Regions from separate parts of the Homo sapiens genome. Here region 2 is linked to region 1. Evidence: promoter capture Hi-C in human tissues and cell types (Jung and others, 2019). All regions are on one chromosome and are shown on one strand. The core of a region is centred on a gene start or on the middle of the fragment in contact, and the rest is flanking DNA. Distances in the headings are between cores, read along the strand shown. Region 1 holds the start of MECOM (MDS1 and EVI1 complex locus). Region 2 overlaps MECOM (MDS1 and EVI1 complex locus).

Region 1 (4,554 bases), core at 1,197-3,696:
TTTAAAAGACGGGGACCTTTAAATTTGGAGGTTCGGAGACTCCGATTCACTTCAGTCTTCCACCTCCCACCCAGTTCCCCTCACAGAACCCACCCCCTACCTCCCCAACCCTCCACGTGGTTTATAATTTCTCAGCAGCAACAGCAAGCTCAGCTTCACATGTGGGTCTTGCATTTAATCTCAGAGTTTGGTACCTTGGTCCCCTCCTTTCCTAGGAACATTTCTTGCACCCCTCTTAACCTCCCGTCTCCAAGGGAACCTAGACATAGACAGACCCCCTGGGGATGAGGTGAAAGGGATTAGCCGGAGGAGTGGAGGGGAGGATGGCGGTTCTTTTCTTTTTTCTTTTCTTCTCTTTCTTTTTTTTTTTTAAGCTACCTTGGCGGTTGGGCACCAAGGCAAGGTGCTCAGCCACCCCTGGGGTGCCTGGCAGGGAAGGTGAGGATTGGAGGGACAAGACCTAGATTTTGACAGCTGGGATCTTCAGGTGCTGCTGGTCTGTCCCCTGGCCTAGGGGATGGTCCCTAGAGAGTCTCTTACACCGATCAGAAGCAGCCTTATGAACTTCTTGCCAGTCAGCCTAGTGTTTGTCTCTCCCTAGAGATTTTGTCCCCCCTTCCAAAGCCTCTCAAGACCCATTTCTCCGTTTCCTCGGAGGACATTTGCTGGTCAGAGGGTAGGCACCTCTCCATCTAAACTGAGGGAAGCTGGTGGAGTCACATTTTGGGGGAAGTTTCAGAGTCAAAGACCTGTGTGAACCTAACAGAATGTTGGAATGGCTGGTGCTTTTGCACACACCAAATGTGTTAGCACACTCACCTTTATGCACAGGACAGCGGGAATTCTAGGTCTGGAAAAAAACCCAGGTGCCTCTTTAATTCAGAGTGGATAATAGAGTTCTCTTGTGCCCACGCGTGTGGGCACTAGAGCCTTCTCTTTTGGAAGTTGTTTTACTCCTGTTGTGAGTAATTCCCTCCTTTACCTTCCTACTTCCCTTCCTCACATTTCAACCTTATACATCTGTCTCCCTTGAGACCTGTAGCTTGGTTCTCCAGGGACCTCTATCTTACAGCCAAATGCCCCCAGAATTACACAGCTCTGGATAAAGGAAAATGGTAGGCATCCTTAACAAGGACAAATTCTTTGAACTTTGATTCTCTTGAATAAAGAGATTTGCAGGCCATTGATACCCTTTGGGGTTGAACCTTGTTATTTGCTCTCTCATGTCTGCAGTCCTAGATTTGATAATAAATACCAACAGGTACGACTGGGCATTCTCAATGATTCCCCTTTCCCTCCACAGCCTTTGCCAAACTCATGCCCAGGACCTGCTTTTCTTTTCCTTTAACTTGAACATCAAGGATGTATTGTTGCAGCACGGAGACTGAAAAGATTGTAATTTTCTTTTATGGTGTCTGGCAGGATTTGCAACAGATATTAATGGGGACATAAATAGCACATGGAAGGTATTGAACAAAACTGTTTAATGCAAGAAGGTTGTACCAAAAGAAAATCTATACCTAGTTGGGATTGATTCATACCTTGTACACAGCTAGCCCCTTTAGGAATTCCCATTTCTGAGTGGCACTTCATTGGTAAATCCTGTAATTAAAGGAAATTTCAACAATGTATTTTTTTAAGAGTGTGTGATTTTCCTCCCTACTCCTCTTTCTTTTGACCCCGAGGTTGTAGGTTTAAGCGAGTGAGTGAAAATGGCAGGCAAGCAGAGCTGCATCGGGAGGCGACCGGGGCAGCAGTGGGGGAGGCCGGAAGGTGACAGCCGACCTCTGAGAAAGCAGGAGGTCTTTGGATGTCAAATGCCAGCGCCGGCCCGGACCCGGGAATCAAGGGTGATCATTACTACTTGGTAGGGAAAGAATACTGAAATGTCCCAAGGATGGCAGCAAGCATTGGTATTACAGCTAAAATCGAGGAAAAAACCAGTTATTTATTCTGCTTACAACCCTGAAAGCGGAAGCTGCAATAGCTTCAGTAGCAGTAGCAGCGGCAGCAGTAGATTTCTCAAGTTCAGGATGATTCTCACTTTCTCCTGGATTATTAGCCGAGGGTCCAGCCCTTCTAGTTCTTTAACAGGAGAAGGGTTTTTAAAAAATGTTTTTAAAGTTTTTTTCCCCCCTGGCTTCTTGCTTCCCTCGTAGATGGTATAGAAAAATGTCTGCAATTTATGGTGGGAAAAACAATAACAATAATCATGATACAAGCTTGTTGGCGATTCTAACATGGAATCAATCCTCTGCCCAAGCCTTTTCAATTCCCCCCTCCCCTTTTTTTGGGCGAGGTGTCTGCTCCCCTCTGGCTCCCTGCGTTCGCTCCCCGCCCCCCGCCGCCCTCCCCGCGGCTCCCTTTCTCCGCCTCCTCGGCGATTGCCATCTGACAAGATCTCCAAATCAAAGTGATAAATCGCTCCAAACTTTTTTTGGCGGCGCTGAGATGTTGGAGGGGCGTCTAGCGCGCATGTGCGAAGGTGTCCAAACTGACAATGCTGGAGAGATAGCGAGTGTGGATTGAGAGAAAGGGAGAGAGGGAGGGAGAGAGAGTGAAAGAAGAAAATACAGAGAGTGAGTGTGTGGAAGAGAGAGAGAAACAGGAGAGAAACAGGAGGGAGGGAGAGAGAGAGAGAGAGAGAGAGAGAGAGAGAGAGAGAGAGAGAGAGAGAGAGAGACAGGAGAGAGAGGGAGGGAGCGAGAGGGAGAGCAAAAGAAGGAAAGGATCCAAGAAAAAAAAGCCCCAACCACACACCAGCGGCTGCAGGACTGGGCACAGCATGAGATCCAAAGGCAGGGCAAGGAAACTGGCCACAAGTAGGTGCAATATCCCTTTTCTATTGGCTTTTCCCCCTCCTCTGCCATCTTGCATATCTGTCTCTAGCGCTCCGGGAGGGAGCGCGGGCTGCCTCTTGCGCCGGGGCCCCGGGTGGAGGGCAGGCGGAGCGCAGCCCCAGCAACCTGCCGGTTCCAGTCTCTGCTCCCGGTCGCCCGCGCTCTCGCTCCCGGGTTGGGCGCCGGAGGAGCCTGGGCAGCCCTCAGTCCCGCGCACCGACCAGCTGTGGCAACCCCGGGGTGGGGGTGGGGGTGGGGGCAGCAAAGACTAGGGGTGGGAGGGAGGAGAGAGCGCGAGAGTGAGCGCGAAGGGGTGGGGTGGGGGGGAAGAGAAGAGGAGAAAGTCTCCCCCTCCCCTCCCCTTCCCCCCAGGCGGGGGAGAGTTGCCTCTGGCCAACCAGCTAGTCCCGGGTGTGGGAGGAGGGGGGCGCGGGGGATGGGGGGCCGGCAGGAGAAGGGAGCCTTTTCGAGCCTCGGTTTGTTTCTGGGGTTTGGGTAGGGTAGGCGGCTCAGAGGGAGCCACAGTGGCGGCGGCGGCGGGCGGCTGTGGTGGACTTGGGAAAAGTTGCGAGGCGGCCGCTGGAAGTTGCGCGGGCGGGCGGGTGGACTGCGCCGAGCCGCGGCTGCGGTAGTGGGCGCTGTGCGCTCGGCCATGCTCTCCGGCGCGGCGCTGCGCGGCGGGAGGACTGCGGCGGGGAGTAGGGGACACCAAGGTGGGGGCTGTGATCGCGGGGTGGGGGCGGGGGCACGGGCAGAGCAGAGCTACCGGCTCCGCACAGCCACGCGCAGGTGGGGAGGAAAGAGGCCCAGCGAGCGCTCGGACGTGGGGAGAGAAGAGGCCCAGCGAGCGCTCGGAGAGCCGGGAGTGGAGGGCACACAGCCAGCGGCGGCAGCCTAGGAGCAGGAGGCAGAGAGGGCGCGCTGCGACCCGCGCACCTCGGGCTTGCTGGGCGCCGAGCAAACCCCAGGGGGCGGGCTGCCAGAGCGTTGGGCCGCGGAGAGGGCGCAGCGCAGCCTCCGGCGCTTCGTCTGGGTGCAGCCTGGGTCCAGGGTCAATAACCCTCCCCGGCGCCCCCTGCCTGCCCGGCGCGGAGCGGCCTTGGTCTGGCGGGATGTGGGCTAAGGGGTTTGGGGAGGGGGCGGTGGGAGTCCCATCCCCCACTCTTACAGCAAAAGTGTTGGATGACTCGCCTGGCTTTGCCGGCGGGGCCCACACTTTCCCACACGGTGTGATGCTCCGCCAGGACTGTAGACGACAGGACTGCGTTTGTCCAAATGCTTCTACTTCGAGTTGAAGGGGACTCAGGGACACTGAGCCCCGGAGCGGCTGGGAGCGCTCTTCCTTGAGGTGTCAATAGGCGGGGCTGGAGCTGCCTCGGGAGTGGACAGGCCGCGGTTCTCTCTCCCACACTCGCACTCGCCGAAAACAAAACTCTCTAATTGTGTTGTTTACGGAACGCAGAAATGAGAGATCGGAGATGGGTGGGATGCTTCTCCCCAGTGAAATCCCAGTCTCCCCCCGCGCGACCCTCGCACATTAGAACCAAATACGGTAGGTATCGTATCCACGCCTCCTTGCTCACTGCGTCCCTGCAGCAGCCCGGGAAGTCGGCGGCACCTCAGCAGGCTCGGCTTCGCGGGCATTGGAGTCGGCGGTGTAGCCCCGCGAGATGCTGTCATCCCAGGCGCCTTTCCAGTGCTTTGTGCAGTCCTC
Region 2 (4,554 bases), core at 1,532-4,031, 170 kb after region 1:
TTCAGCTGATTTATCAATGTGATTCACACATTTCTGAGGCCACAAACAGGATATATGGCATATGTTGGCCTAAGAAACAAAACAAAACAAAACTCTTCTTTTGTACTTTATTCGATAAATAGCTAAAGCCTACATATGGAATTTTTGTACTGATTCACTCAACAAACACATTGACTTTATATGAGTTGAACTTTATTTAGACATAATGAGAAGCCATTGGAATGTCTGAAATGTGAGGAGACATAATCAGAATTATGCTTTAGGATGTTTGTTTTGGCAAAGGTATGCAGGATGAATTACAAGAGAGAAAAACTGGCCGGGAGCTGTGTCTCATGCCTGTAATCCCAGCATTTTGGGATGCCGAGGCGGGTGGATCACCTGAGGTCAGGAGTTTGAGACCAGCCTGGCCAACATGGTAAAACTCCATCTCTACTAAAAATACCAGTAAAAGAAAAAAAATTAGCCGGGCCTGGTGGCAGGCACCTGTAATTCCAGCTACTTGGGAGGCTGAGGCGGGAGAATCACTTGAACCCAGGAGGCAGAGGTTGCAGTGAGCTGAGATCACACTACTGCACTCCAGCCTGGGCAACAGAGTAAGACTCCATCTCAAAAGAAAAAAAAAAGAAAAAGAAAAAGAGAAAAATTGAAGAATTAGAGAGCTAGTTAGTGGGCTATTGCAAAAGAAGCATTGGGAGTAAATGATAAGGACCTGAAGTAGGTTGTGGCAATAGGGATAGAAAGAACAATATAATAAGGTAAGAATAAGCAGGACTTGGTTGCTGATAGTAAGTGGGAAGCAAGGAGTCAAGAGAAGTCAAATATGAACTGTGGCATGGGGAGAATAATATTGCCATTAAAGAAATTACTAAATCAGACTGCTAGGATTAAGGAACTAAAGAGTCTGCTCATTTTAATGTGTTATGAATTTATAAACTCTTTTTCAGAAGGAATGGTAGCAATAAAGAGGGAAGAAATAGGGTAATAGTTTGAATGGATAGAAGGCTAAAATCTTTCTTAAAGTTTATGCATGCTTGGCTGTGTTTACTGAATATAATCTATTTTATGGGGGTCCCAAAGAAAATTTTTCTGTAGCCATCACAGCTACCTGTAAACATTTATTGTTCATTACCATATGTTTAGAAAATAGAATCAAGAAAGAGCCATTATTTTCTTTTTGATTTTCACATGATTTGGATTTTCCACTGAAGTTCAAGCAAAAGTCAACTTGGGATCTTGGGAATGAACTAAGACGTGGAAATGCTTAGGTCCAACCATGCTCTGAGGAAGGCTTTATGATGGAGATGGAATCAGATACTGAACGAAAGAATTTGAAGTCATTGCAGGGTTATCTCCAGCCAGAGGGGAAATGGCCAGTCAGGAAGAACAACTGGCACAAGGAGCCAGAGCAGTGGCTTGCCGATAACCCTTGGGAAGAGCAACCCTCTCTTTAAGGAAGTCACAGAATTAGCTTCCTGAAAAAACACATTAGTTTGACGATTCACTTGATCTCAAATGAGGTATGGATCATGGTGATTCTTAAAAAAAATGAGGCAGTTTTAGAAAACTTGAGGAAATCCCTCTTTTAGGTTACAAACACCACAAGGGTTTTAAAACAAAAGCTCTTAGCTAAGGGATAATAATTTCCATATGCACGTTTGGTTCTAACATGAGAATATGTTTCCAAAGACGGGTGTATTGTCTGTCTTCAAGGGAATCTTTAAGGCTTATAGAGGCAACTGGCTAGCCACTGAATTCCAGTGAACTCCTGATAGACTCTGCCCATCCCTAATATGTTTTCAATGGTGAGAAATTCTGCCACTGGCCACTGCAGAATTTTCTTTGCTTCCAATTTCCCCATAACAACAGGGCTTTTTCTTGTTTGAGGAGGCTCCCATATCCTAAATGCAGATCCAAGAGAAAAGCTTTGCATGTCCTCATTTGTTCTCCATATTTGTGACTTCTAGTTGGAGTCGACCCTTTTACTGGTAGGGTCGTTATGCTTACTATGTGTCAGGCACTGTTTTGAAGACTTTACAGGTATAGCTCATGAGATCCTCACATCAGTCTTATGACACAGCTCTATTATTATCTATTCTAAAAGAAGAGGAAAGGACAACCCCAACCTGCTGAAAGTTTTCAGCTAGTAAGCGGCCAGCCATCAATTAACATCACTGTGCCATGCTGCCTTCTGTAAGTACAATGTGACTAATGGCTTTGAAACTGAAGAGCTTTTGTGAGTGACTGGTTCATAGTTTTGATAGTGAGGCCAGTGTCCAAATTACCAGTATATTCAGGTTTGGGCCATTTAGCCTCATTTGGAAAAGCCATGGAAAGAATGAGTATTGGAATATGAAAATATGCTAGTCTCTCCATTTCTTAGAGGTGTTATGAATAGTACTTCTTTGTAATTAAAAGTTGTTTCAACTAAGAAACAAGCATTCTTTCGAAAAATATAGTCTCTTCTATTATGCAAAAGAACCAGGCCAGACACAGGTTCACACTAAAAAGACAGGTGTGTAAAATACAGACTCTAATTGTAGCTCAGAATATTATAATATGGTGTGTTTAGAAATAATTATCAAAGAATAAAAACTTAAATTAATATCATATTTGTGGTGAAACTTTCTGTACAATTGAACCATCTGCTGCTCCATCCCTGTCCTCCCCCACATACAATTATAGTCTGTTGTGATGAGATTCTACCTTTTTCACTACCCAGGCTTATCAAAGCTATAAACCGGTCACATAATTCACAGAAGGTTAAAGATACGTGGAGAACTTGGATAGGGTCCAGGGGAGAGCAATGAAAATGATTAACGGGTTGGAAAATAGCACTGATGAAAAAAGATGAATGGAATCAGGATTACCGGTATTGAGAAGGTTTAGAGGTGACTTAATAACTGTCCTCAACTGTATGAAGGACTATTAAGAGAAGCATGGTGACCAAATGTCTTCCAAGAAGGAGAAAAGGATCTAGCCTACAACAGGGAAGATTTAAGCTAGATGTGAATTTCAAACACGATTCTCCTCTCCATCCTCACTAGTGTCATTTATTGACTCTCTTCCATTCCTTGGATCATCATTATTGATTTTTAATGATAAGGATGAAGGTGAATGGCACCATGGCTGAAACAGTTTAATAGATAACTAAAAGATTTCTTCTCATGAAGGCAGTGACTCTCAGTTGGAAGTTTGGAGTAGAAAGATGAATCAGAATCACCACACTGGGAGCTTTTACAAAATACAGATGCTCCAGGGTCCCTCACTGTCCTCTACCTTCCCTTGAAGAATAAGTGCTTTAAAAGATTGTGCTCTCGATTAGTTAATACAGATAGGTGAAAGCAGGAAGATCTTAGTGGTGTATAATAAAACTTTGGTGATGAGTGTATTCAATGGGGTGTTTTGATTAGTTGGCCATTTTAGTTAGCTTATAGCTAATGTATTTCAATGCTTACACCTTGAGAATAGTTTGATCTTTTTAACTTTTCCTTGCTTTAATTGTATTCTCAACAGTTAGAACTTGTGGCATCTGACTTCTTGGGTAGCAGTTTTGCAAAGCATAGCAACATGAATCAAGAGTAAGGCAAAGAGCGGGCTTGGTATTTGGGCTGCCTTACGCCCTTGGGAGCCAGAGAGGAAGAACTGGGCAGTGTGAACTGTCAACTTGTTAGTTTTACCAATAAGTTTACTCTCTGAAAATATTCCCTCTCAAAAATTTATCAGTAAAAATCACAAGAGCAACATCACTTAAAATTAGGTGTTTCCTTTGGGTAATAAAAACTGAGATTGTCCCCTGTTTTAAAATATTAAGGTGGAGGAAATAAAACACAAGGCAAGCAGAGAAGACGGTGAAATGGTCAGTGTAATGTTTACATGTTATGAGAAGGCTGTATAATCATAACAATTATTTTCCCTCAAAAGCTCTACCTCTTTGATCTAGCTCAAATTTCACACCAACCATCAAAGATGATTGCTGCATAAATCTGTATTCTTTCCTACCGTTTAAGGTTATTGGTACTTTGATTAATTTAACCACGTTACTGTCAGGTTGAACACACTCATCTTCTGTTTCAAAGTGTGTACTCGTCAATCTCTCTATGGTTCCTTCCCTTCAGGCCTTATTTCATCACATTTAAGGAGACTCTCCTGCCCTTTATCTTGTTAGGCTTTCAACAGCTTAAGTTGAATCTTCATTCTTTCATTCTTGCTGTCAAGCTTTCTTCAATAGGCTCTCTCATTTCCCTATTCATAAAGTGTCAGGGCTGTTTCTGTTTCACACAGCATTATATGCAGAGTCAGACGTTGCTACAGATTAAATCATTTCCCATCTGAGGAACTTCAGTTACCCAGTATATAAATATACACCCAGTGTATGTGTGAAATATATATATATATGTATACATATGTGTATATATAAAAATACATATGTCTGTATGTCTTACATACATACATATATATGTATGTAAGACAGTGTTCAAAGCAGAGTGTGGTGTTCCTCGTTAGATTCTAAGGGAACTGCAAAGTGAAGGAGGCAGCAATGTGGTTTTGTTACTG

The links. Contacts are between HindIII fragments. The study calls those that stand out against the background at their distance.
Region 2: a contact is called between a fragment that was not itself captured here and the fragment with the promoter of MECOM in region 1, in 1 of the 25 tissues and cell types used here (lymphoblastoid cells).

What each region holds. Positions count from the first base shown.
Region 1 is chr3:169,661,604-169,666,157 of GRCh38, reverse strand. MECOM (MDS1 and EVI1 complex locus) reads left to right here and starts at 2,446. Exons shown (of 17, transcript NM_004991.4): 1 at 2,446-2,822. The coding sequence starts at 2,786. RefSeq lists a silencer at 3,455-3,554. The HindIII fragment of the contact is 10,305 bases long and covers 1-4,554 here.
Region 2 is chr3:169,493,418-169,497,971 of GRCh38, reverse strand. The region is part of intron 1 of MECOM (MDS1 and EVI1 complex locus); the gene reads left to right. Among named protein-coding and RNA genes, the nearest start is that of MECOM-AS1, 48 kb to the right of the region's middle. The HindIII fragment of the contact is 4,985 bases long and covers 289-4,554 here.